Regions from separate parts of the Homo sapiens genome. Here region 1 is linked to region 2. The links are contacts of gene promoters, found by promoter capture Hi-C in blood cells and fetal thymus (Javierre and others, 2016). All regions are on one chromosome and are shown on one strand. The core of a region is centred on a gene start or on the middle of the fragment in contact, and the rest is flanking DNA. Distances in the headings are between cores, read along the strand shown. Region 1 holds the start of SIDT1 (SID1 transmembrane family member 1). Region 2 holds the start of NEPRO-AS1 (NEPRO antisense RNA 1).

Region 1 (5,599 bases), core at 2,650-5,149, 510 kb after region 2:
TTCCCAGCATGGCCATTGAAAGCCCAAATAATCTTTGGTGAAATTATGCTATTTAGAGAGGTGGGCACTAGAATTAGAATTAGAATAAGTATATATATATAGGAAAAAGGAGTTTTTCCTGTAGGAGTGGAAAAATCTGACTTAAATGGTCCCATAAGAGCTGGCAAAAGTTAAAAGTAAAGCTTGTGTACTTTGTATCTTGAGCCCCCAACCTTGAGGATGAGTTGCCTCTAAATGCACACCTGACAATGTGTCTCCCCAGGCAAGTATAACACCAGAGAGAATGCTCTTTCTGGATCAAAACCAAATTCTCAGAACAAAAATCTAGATGAGAGGATAATCTTATCTAGTTTTATTGGTAACCCACAGCAAAGTTTGTCCAAATGAATGCCAGTCAAATGAAAACTACATTGGTCTGGGAGGACAGCTCAAATTAAAGGCTTATAGGGCCTATGCCTGTGTTCTACTCTATGACAACACTTCCAGATTGCACAATGCAAAACAGAAGCAGAAAAGAGAGAAAACAGAGATGAAAAGGAATAGCCTGACTCCACCAAAGATGCCAATCAAATGGGAAGTGATAACAAATCCTAGGTACCAAAGTGAGACTAAATAGCCAAAGAACTCAAAATCAAAGAGCAGAGTTCAGAACCAGTGCTGACCCAATGTGTCAATGCAGACTCAACTGTGTGCAGTGAGGCACAAGAAGCCTTGGTGGGTACTGCACCTGGCAGAGAACTGGGATCCATGGTGACATGCAGTGCAGACAGTATCTCTGTGGAAACTTCAAGAAAACTACAGAAACAAGTGAAGCTCACACAAATGAAAACAAACAGAGGCTAATTATTCAGAGCTTGCTCTAGCAAGGGAGTTGACCACCATCACTTCTGCTTAGTAGAGACTCAAAGGCAGGAAGGGGAGTGAGAAAACTTCATAGTTATAAAAGGGGAAGGTTTCAGGTATGCTCTGACTGGATCTTGCTGTTGGAAGCTGGAGGCAGGCTAAGTAGGAGCAGGGCATTTTGTGGTTTGGGAAGCATATTTAACTTTCTCTGATTGATCCTAAGTTGGAAGCAGGGGCAAAAATTGGGGAAATTGACTCATTGAGCAAGACCTAATTCTTTTGGGCCATTTGCTGCAGCAGTTGTAGTTTGATTTCTTGGACTGGTTGCTGCTAAAGTGTTTTTGTTTCCTGAGCTGATTGCTGCAGAAACTGTGGGTCAGAGTTAGTTGTATTGCTATTTATGGTCTGGCCATTGCCCACTTGCATATTTAGTCTCTCACAGTAGAATCCTGACATTGTAGATATTAAAAAAAAAAAACTGCCTTTAAAATCAAAACAATTGAACTCATGGAGAAAGAGAGTAGAAGGATGGTTACCAGAGGCTGGGAAGGGTAGTGGGAGAGCTGGGGGAGGAAGGTGGGGATGGATAATGGATACCAAAAAATGGAATGAATAAGGTGTAGTATTTGATTGCACAACAGGCTATAGTCAATAATAATTTAATTGTAAATTTAAAAATCACTAAAAGAGTATAATTGGGTTGTTTGTAACATTATGGATAAATGCTTGAGGTGATGGATATCTCGTTTTCCATGATGTGATTATTATGCATTGCATGCCTGTATCAAAATATCTCATATACTCCATACATATATACACCTACTAAGTACCCACAAAAATTTAAAATAAAATTCCTTTTAAAAATAAAGAAAAAAACCACCTACCTAATGGACCACATTTTATTTTTTAGCTATTGAACTAGCAGTCACACCATAACAGTATTTGTTCATTCAACACTTTAAACTTTTTAATGTACTTTCAAATACATCATTCTCCCTTTTATCCTTACAACAACCTTGTGATCCTGAGAGGTTAATTACTTGAGGTCACTGAATGACTTTTGGCTAGAATAAGGATTAGATAATATTACAGAGTGACTTGTAATATATAACTCAAATTGTTAGGTATAGATAATCCATACAAATGGCTTTAAAATAAATATTTTGGGTTTCATGCTATGATGAAGGATCTGTTCCATTTGCTTCCAATTTAGTTGCGTAAAGTTGAGATAAAATCTTGAAGGAAGGGTCATAGCACCATTTAAATACCCACAGGTCTGTCATGTGGAAGAAGTATTAGGTTTATTCCTATGACTCCAGAGGGCAGAACTAGTACAAGTGAGTAGAAGACAGGCAGATTTCAACTAAGAATATGAAATGTCTTTCTAATAATGAGACACTTGCCCCCAAAAGAAGGTGTTGACTTGTGAAAGAACCAGTTCCTCATCTCTTATAGTGTTTAAAAAGAACGCCATAATAGAACTCCATAATCCTAGAGACTCCTTTAACTGGTCACACCAGCTAACCTCCAGGACCTTCGTAGATTTCAAGTTTATGAAATGTTGTTGAACTTTGAAAAGAGGCACAGATATTTTGAATACAACAGTTTAAAGTCATTCAAATTCTGGATGAAATTATTTCGTTATGCTCCTCAAAAACAGTGAGTTCTATTTGAAGTTTTACCCCCAGACTCTCCTTTGAATTAGTATTTTTGCCCATATACCCATATATTTTCAAGAAATTTCTTTCTTTCCTTCCTTCCTTCCTTCCTTCCTTTCTTCCTTCCTTCTTCCTTCCTTCCTTTCTTCCTTTTGAGATAGGGTCCTGCTCTGTCATCCAAGCTGGGGTGCAGTGGGGTGTTCACGGCTCATTGCAGCCTCGACCTCCCGGACTCAAGCAGTCCTCCCAACTCAACTCCCAAGTAGCTAGGACGACAGGCATGCACCACCACGCCCAGCTATTTTTGTATTTTTTGTAGAGATGGGGTTTCATCATGTTGCCCAGACTTGTCATGAACACATGGCCTCAAGCTAGCCCACCTCCCACTTCAGCCTCCCAAAGTGCTGGGATTACAGGCATGAGCCACTGCACCTGGCCAAGAACATTCAAAACTTTAAAACTGAAAATTGTCCTAATAAGGAGTCTACTAACTTAATCTTCCATCAGCATTGTTTTCTGATTTCACAGAAAACTTTACAACAAATGTATTGCATTCATTCTTGATGTTTTAAGAAATTAAAGGAATTAGACAAGGTAAAAACAAAAACAAATCTATCTCTTTAAAGATGGCAAGGACTAGGATTTTAATCTGTAATCTTAAATTTTTGAAAAAGATCTTTTCCTTCTTAATGACTTCTTTTTAAATGGTCCTTCAGGTTGAACACAATTACATTCTTTTATAGTATACAGTAATGAAGCTGAAATAAAACAGTGAGTTCTCTTCCACACGTAAATTGTGATTGTTCAATGTTCTGCAAGGTCTTCTGATGGCCCCATTCTCACCCTGCTCCTTACCTGCCTCTTTAACTCTTTAAATCTAATCCCCTAATTTTTATCAGAAAAGTATTTCCTTTTTACGATAGGCTGTGGTTTCTGCCTTTAAAAAAACAATCCTGGGGTTTCTCTCAGAATCTGGAAGAAGTCATTGCAATGGTAAAGTAGGTAAGAGGCTGGGGTGGAAAGAAATGCCTTCTGCATAAATCTAGTTAGTCTGAGTCGTTTTTTGACAACTTCCGGGACCAGACTTCAGGCAGTGCTGGAAATTGTTCTCTTTACCATATCTTTTTTTTTTTAACTGTACATATTTACATACATACACATATGGTGAGGGAGAGAACGTGATGACGTGAGACTCTCCATGGAGAGTAGGAGGTAATAAAGAAATAAAACAGGTGTCTGAGGAGAGGTTCTATTAGAGAGGGGAGAATAGAGAGTAATTATCGTTCAGACAGGCAAGAGTTCTCTGCAGGTAGCAGCCTGGGAAAGCGAACTCGCGCACCCTCTTGGGGGACGGGCTCTTTTGCTTTCTATTTCTTCTCCTGCAGCCAGGGTGCACACGTATTTGAAACAGACCGAATTTCCTCCTCGATGTGGCGTCAGGTTGACTTTTCGAGACTAGCGGGTATTTCTTTTTAATGACTCCAATGCCTTTTTATTATTGCTGTTATTGAGGTTGAGGGAGAAGAGATCGGTCTAAATTCTGGCTGGGTAAGTGGGGGGATTCTCGGCGATGAGAAACGGGGGACTTAGAAGCCGGAGGAAAATCAGCAGCCCCACATCTCCACTTCTCCAGTCCGCCCTACTCTCCACCCGTGACCTCCAGTGGAGACCCCAGGCGGCAGCATCAGTATTTGATCGGCCCTTCGTCAGCACGCTGCCAGCCCTGGCCGGCTGGGTTCGCCAGGCATCACCCGCTCGGCTCTGAAGCGGACGCCTGGCCCTGCACCGGGCTTTGGAAGGACCCTCTCTGCGCTCGCCCCCTCCCCAGGGTGGCTCCGCTTTCGAGCCCGGGCGCGGTGCCCACCATGCGCGGCTGCCTGCGGCTCGCGCTGCTCTGCGCGCTGCCCTGGCTCCTGCTGGCGGCGTCGCCCGGGCACCCGGCGAAATCCCCCAGGCAGCCCCCGGCACCGCGCCGCGACCCCTTCGACGCTGCCAGGGGCGCCGATTTCGATCATGTCTACAGCGGGGTGGTGAACCTCAGCACCGAGAACATCTACTCTTTCAACTACACCAGCCAGCCCGACCAGGTAAGACACTCGCTCCCCTCGCTCGACTCCTAGAACTTGCCAGATCTCAGAGCCCCGTCGCTGCTTTGGAGTCCCCTGGGAATTGACCTTGGGAGACTTCGGGGACCAGGGGACTTTCTTTCCCTTTCTCCTCCGAAGCAATCGCTGCCCTGCCCTAGCTGCCTCAACACGCCTCGGGGACAACTCTGCTTCGCCTCGCGCCTCTCCTGGCCTGGTCAAGGGCATTGCTGGGCTTTGCAGAGGCACCAGTTCCCCGCACCGTCTGCGGGTCCTGGGTCCCTGCTGGGTCTTTCTCCAGGAAAGTCCTGATTTCTAGGGTTGCGGGGTGTGGTGTGGAGTGCGAAGAAGAACCGCACCTCGGTTCCTAATCCCCTGCAGGGAAGAAACCTAATTTCAAGTGGCTGATTCAGCCAGACCCTTCTATTTCATAGCGCATGGGGAGGGAGAACTGCTCAGAATCTAAAATGGAAATTGTGTGAAAATGGACGGAAGCTGCAGAACCTCTGTGCATTCAACAGTCACTTCCTGCGTTTTTGTGCCATTGTCACACGTTGTGCTTCAGAGACGCCAGAAGACCTGGGCAAAGACGTGAGAACTGCAGCCATCAGCTGATCAATCCAGGTTTTGATTTTAAATAAGGATGGATAATTGTGTGAAAGTTCTAGACCTATTTTTGACAAAAGTTGAGGGAAGATAAGGAGGGAAAAATGTTCCAGTGACTATCCCTTTGACATATATACTCCGATTATATAACGTAAGAAGATGCATATAGTTCATTTCTTTCCTCTAGTGTGGTACCTCTGGAGCACTGGGCGGGGAGAGAGAGGGAGACAGAGAGAGAAAGAGAGAAAGAGAGACAGAGACAGAGACAGAGACTCCCCAGTGTACCAACCTCTGGATCTTCTTCCCATATAAATGTGTTTATGTATCCCTTACTATACCAGCATCCCCTACCCTCTAGGGAAATTCCAGAACTAGATGATTGGGATACCATGATATGCCTCCGTCTGA
Region 2 (5,907 bases), core at 3,117-5,616:
GCCCTTTGTGTGTTATTCCTGAGGACTACAGAATTCCTACAGCATTTTGTACCATGCATGGCTCTTACTTTTTTTAAAAAAAATTAAAAATCCTATTGAGTGCTTACTGAACACTGTTCTAAGAACTGGATTATGGTGGTAAACAAAAGGGACAAAATACATTGCCCTTGTGGAGCTTACATTATAGCTGGGAGAGAAAGGCAGTCAATCAATGGCAGGTGGTGTTAAGTGCTATGAAGACAAATAAGGCAGAGAGGGAGTGCTGAGAAGATTGCAATTTTAAATAGGGTCTGTTTTTATTTTAGCATTTAATTAAATATTTTACATGTCTTCCTATTTTTACTACTAGATTTTTAGCAACTAGAGATAGGGAAGTTTCTAATACCACTTTATCTGCCAGCATGCCCTACATGTACTCCACAGAACAGGAATCAAAACTACTTTCTGTGTTCCATTTAGGGGAATGTTTAGAGACAGGCCAATTCTAGTACTTACATGAAAGTTCTCTGAAAACTGTGAAATATTAAGCAGTTGTAAGGCAGTAGTAGAAGTGGTAATAGCAGCTGCAGCAGTAACATAAGCATAAAACATGTTTCCTACTTCAGGGATCACATGGAATATAAAATATATACACAAATAACTTTACCATGACACAGACTATATTAAATGCTATAAGTACAAAGAGGAGGCCCAAATAGCCAAGAATTTAAAAAAAAAAAAAAAAAAGCAACTTCAGTAATAATCAGAAAAATACAACTTAAAATGAGATTACTATAACACAGATTATCACTGCCAGAAAGGCTTAAAATGGGACTTAGAGGATAGGAAGGCCTTTAACAGGCAGACATGGTGAGGCTGGGCATTCTAAACATACAGGACCAGGTAAGCAGACTCAGAAGCAGGAACAAACATAGTGAGCATGCAGGTGTGTTGAGTCCAGGTTGGCTGGAATATAATCTATCTGAACGCAAGAGAGAAGCCCGAACTAAGAAGACTGAAGAGGCCAGATCACAGATCTCGTAAGCCAAACTAAGAAGTTTGGTCTTTACTCAGGACACAATGGAGAACGACTAAAAATCAAAGTTGTGTTTTCAGATGATTAACCTGGTTTTAATATTTAGAATATGCCAGAACTTAGGAAAAGCTGAAGGAGGAAACATCAGTTATGATAGTAAGACAACTAAAAGTTGACAAGGTCTAAGAAAGGAAAATGGCAGCCAGAACTGAAGAGGGGACCAGATGCAGAGGAAGTTTTGTCTTATGGACTGCCTGGATGGGAGAGCTACGTAAGAGAGAGAGACTAGAGAATGCCAAATTTTGATGACGGGGTGATTATTCACAACCCAGAAGCTAGAAGGAGAAATATATTCACTTTGAGGGTTAGCAAGCTTGCTTTTGGATCAAAAAGACTCCGAAAAAGATAAAAGCCACCCTAGAATGGAAAATTTAGGGAAAGACCATGGTCCCAGATCTTTCTTTGATGAAATCTTCACCCTGTTTGCTTTAAGTACTAGGGGTAGAAAACTAACCAGAAAGCATGCATCTATAAGGTTAGAGACTGTGTCTACCTTTTTCACTCCTCTATACACAGCACTAAGCAGAATGCCTGGCACACAGAAAGTTCAAAAACACTTGCAAGGTAGCCCTGTCACACAATGGATAGCCTTCTGAACTTCCAGAAAATACTTGCAGAATTAAGTGAATGAATGAATGAGCATATCAGGAAGCCAGCTTAAGAGAGGCTCTACTCTATGGTATAGCCCCTGAGCTGGAGGGCCCAATTTTGTCTTAAGCTCCAAACATTACATGAAACCAGTTTACACCACAACTTGCTATGTACCCATTTACTCTAACATACCACCAATTAGATTATGTACCCCATAATAAGTAGACAAGTTTTTTTAAAAATAATTTTAGCATTCTGATTATGCCCAGGGAACTGTTTCTTAATGTCCAACATTTTGTCTTGCTCAAATCACTTTATCTTTGAGCTGGGCAAAGGCACTGTTGTTATAGATTGTATATAATGAAGAAAATGTTTACTTGCCTATTAGAAACAAGACTGGGAAAGAATCTAAACATACTTCTTTTCTAACAAAAATTACTTTTTGAAATGCTGAAATGCTTTTAGGAAAAAAAAAGAAAGTGCACATGTAACTGTGGGCTATAGGCCTATAAAACACAAGTAATTTACTGAGATTTCCACGAGATTTCCATAAATAGCAATATAGTAAGTGGCAGTGTGATCTACATTTTCAAGTGAACAGGTTGGGTCTCACCTACCGGGCTTCCTCACCTGTTTGAGGGCCAAATGGGGTTTGTGGCGGCCCATTCTGTTGTGATTGCTGTAAAGGACTGCACATAACACATCTGTTTCTGCATCTAAGGTTTGGCTCTTCAGCGACAGTATGACGAGATGGCATTCTTTAATTACAGCTGCAATGCAAAGGTCTGAAGCAGAGACATCTAATAAGATTTAGTATGTATTTCTACAGTAAGTATATTATATTAAAAACACACTAAAAAAAGCATCTTTCCTTATTTGTTTTAAAGGAATCAAAAACTAATGTAATCAGTCTCAACTGTAAGAACGTAAGGATTCTAAGTATAAGAGAAGTTGGAAAATGGTAACAGATGATATAAAGTCCAGGAAATCATTAAGAGAACATCTGTAAAACAAGAAGCTGTATCTTTGCATTGCATTTTATCATGGTTTAATAATCTTTCATATGAATACTTTGCTGTCAGTCATTTGGTGTACACTTACGCCTCATGTGTACACTTAACCCCCACCTTGAAGGTAGGGCACATGTCACAACATGTGTAATAACTCTCTAACTCCCCATGTCGCTATGCCCGAAAGCAAGACAGAATGAATAAATTCACAGTCTTCAAAATCAAGGCTTCTGTGTTTGGATATCACTTTATGAGAGACACAAACATATTCAGAAAAGAAAAACCACCACAGTAACTGGAAATCGTATTATTTGATGAACACCGGGTGCTCATCAGCAGATGCTTCCTAGTCTGAAAATCTGTAGAAGTCCCTAAGATGTAGTTCATGTGTTATTTATGGCTCTAAAGGCAGCACTAGCATTCTAAATGGAAGTAAAGGCTGGTTGCTACCTAACAAGAATTTTCTTACTGTCCCAACAACTACCTGAAGACAGAATGGGCTGCCTCGGGGATGGGTAGTGAGTTGGTGAATTTCCCAGGCCTAATAGGAGTTGTTAAAGAATTTTTGAATAGAGAAAGAGGGAAGATTAATCTGTAAAGTGTGTAGGAAGGATAGATGGGATAATCTGTAAAGTGTGTAGGATGGATATATGGGAAAGGGGATGTGATGATCTAAGTCAAGCTTGTCCAACCCGCCTTATTTTGTTGTTCTGTTCTGTTTTGTTTTAGGCTTTTTGCAGCTTAAAGCCATGGTTTTTAGTTTGTCTCTAGTGAAAAGAGGGATGAGGAAAGGGCTTTACCAGCCCAACCGGAAACAAAGAACCCATGACTGTATTCTCTCCCTTGGGCCCCGGAGCTACGTATTTAATATTCATAACAGCTTCCATTTGAGTGTTCATTTACCATGCCAGGCAGTGTTCCAAATGCTTTCTCTACATTATCAACTCTTTCATCCCCCCAAACAGCCCTATGAGGAAGGTGCTTTTATCTCCATTTGAAAGTGAGATCAGTGAGGCACAGAAAGGTTCAATGACTCCTTCAAGCTCCAGCAAAGGGTAGAGCTAGTATTCAAACCCAAACAACCTGGCTCCTGCGCCAGGCTCCTACCTACTATATGCCCTTCACCCTAACAAATACCACCCATTTAGGTGGCAAAACACCGTCGTTTACAGCGCACTGTCTCCTAAATTACATCATTAGATATTCCCAACGCCCCTGTGAGGAGTAGGAGGACTAACTCCATTTCACAGATAAGCAGATAGAGGTCCGAAAAGATTGCAGTTTGAGTCCCAGTGCTTAGGTGACGTCCACCGCTCCTCGGGTACAGGAAAAAGAAGGAAAGGGGAAATGGACGGAAGGGTAAACAAGACTCCGAAGACCCGGGTGAGCAAGGGTTCCCAGGCAGCACTGTTCCCCGGCACCAGCTGAGTCCACCTCTCTCCGCCCCCTCAGCGCACGGCTGAGCCTTGGTCTTTCATCTCTCCAGCCAAGCCCTGGGTTAGCACAGCTGGTTCAATGAAGGAATGCGAAGCCAGAGGCCCTACAAGCTACACCAGCAAAGTGCTGGGACCGCTCGACCCCTACGTGCCCCGCGCCCCTTCCCAGCGTCCCCCGGGCCGGGAAGTCCCGGTACCACCCCCGCCCACATGCGCCGGCTGGGCCTGGCGGCCTCCCCCGGAAACGTTCCCCCATCCTCGCCCGGCGCCTCACTCACCAAGGGCCGCGCCGGGGTTCTGCACTGTCACTGCGCTGCGGTTCCCCGCCTTAGGGATTCTCACACGGTTCCACGGCTCCAGGCCCGGCGGCACCGCAGCCATCATGCGAGGCGGGGGGACTTACGAAAGGCGGAGCTACGCGAGAGCACGTCCAGCGACCGGAGGTGGGGCGATGGGACCCAGTCCGGGCCGGAAGGGAGCAGGGGGTGGGGCTCGGGCGGGGCCAGGAGCCCGGCGGGAGGCTGCCTTCATCGAGTAAACGCGTGGGACTGGGAAGGACCCAGTCATCTGTATATTGGTTACCAACACGTGGCCGCGTAGAATCATGGGGGAAAAAAGGCCCCATCCCAATACTAACCAACAGAATCTCTGAGAATGCGATGAGGAATCTGCGTTTTGTTTAAACTTAGCGCAGGGGATTCGGAAGCACAACCAAGTTTGGAACTGTTAAATACTTCTAGGCATTTTACAAATATGGAAAATGAGGCCCAGAATTGAGTTGGTGCTTTTACCCCCAACTCTGCCTCAGACATTAGGGGAAAAAGGAAGAAATGAAATGAAGAGGTTTGTGCAAGGTGTGGAATTTGTAGCGAAGAAGCAGTGATTTGCTTTGAGTGGTAAAGGAAGGCTCCTTTATGTCTTGAACCACAGCAAAACCGAGATCACATCAAAGAAACTTGGAAGACACCTGTCAGTCATTCCCACTTTTGTCAGTCTCCAAGACAAGATCATATTCCAAGCTCTAGTGATCCTTACCTCATTAATATCTTTCTAATAATTCATTTATCCTCAGCCATGCTAATGCCCCCTTAAGTTCTTAACACTCCCACAGTAACGTATTAGAAAAACAGTGAGTTTTGGAAACAGACTGCCAAGGTTCTAGTTCTAGCTTTGCTGTTTACTAGCTCGGTGATCTCAGGAAATTTACTTACCTCCTCCTCCAGACCTTAGTATCCCTGTGGGTAAAATGAAGATGATAATAATAGTATCAATCTCACAGACTTGTAAAATGCCAAGGCACTCCTGGCATACAAACAATGAACATTTACCATAGTTAATATTGTTGATGTTATTACTACTATTTCATGCAAGCAGTCTTACTTTATTGAAACACTTTCCATGCTCTTTCTGTGCGCCTTTACACATCTACCTACTCTACCTGGGTCATCCTCGGAAACACAATCTCCTTTCCTCAGCTCTGGGGTCGTCACTTGGGGTAATTCTTCCTAAACACCCCGTCCTCACTCCATAACTTGATACAGAGGCCCCTTTAATGTGTTACCACAGTGCCCTATGTTGGCCTATGTATTAGTTTTCTATTGCTGCTGTAACCAATTACGACAAACCTAATGGCTTGAAATAAGTAGAAGTTATTTTACATTTCTGGAGGTCAGAAGTCCAAAATTAATTTCAATGGACTGAAGTTGGCAGGGCTGGTTCCTTCCGGAATCTCTAGGGAAGAATTCATTTCCTTTCCTTTTCCAGCTTCTAGAGGCTGCCTTCATTCCTTGGCTCA

Evidence for each region. Contacts are between HindIII fragments. The CHiCAGO score rates a contact against its expected background, and 5 or more counts as called.
Region 1: the fragment with the promoter of SIDT1 here is called in contact with the fragment with the promoter of NEPRO-AS1 in region 2 in 1 of 17 cell types (activated CD4 T cells); the score reaches 5.1 in activated CD4 T cells.

Annotation. Positions count from the first base shown.
Region 1 is chr3:113,528,656-113,534,254 of GRCh38, forward strand. SIDT1 (SID1 transmembrane family member 1) reads left to right here and starts at 3,900. Exons shown (of 25, transcript NM_017699.3): 1 at 3,900-4,588. The coding sequence starts at 4,367. RefSeq lists enhancers at 3,292-3,511, 3,532-3,721, 3,862-4,191, 4,662-4,791 and a silencer at 4,462-4,511. The HindIII fragment of the contact is 7,487 bases long and covers 181-5,599 here.
Region 2 is chr3:113,015,152-113,021,058 of GRCh38, forward strand. NEPRO-AS1 (NEPRO antisense RNA 1) reads left to right here and starts at 4,367. Exons shown (of 3, transcript NR_186663.1): 1 at 4,367-4,555. It overlaps RMP64 (ribonuclease MRP subunit p64), which reads right to left and starts at 4,520. Exons shown (of 9, transcript NM_015412.4): 1 at 4,391-4,520; 2 at 2,297-2,451. The coding sequence starts at 4,496. RefSeq lists an enhancer at 3,969-4,038 and a silencer at 4,199-4,308. The HindIII fragment of the contact is 8,907 bases long and covers 3,357-5,907 here.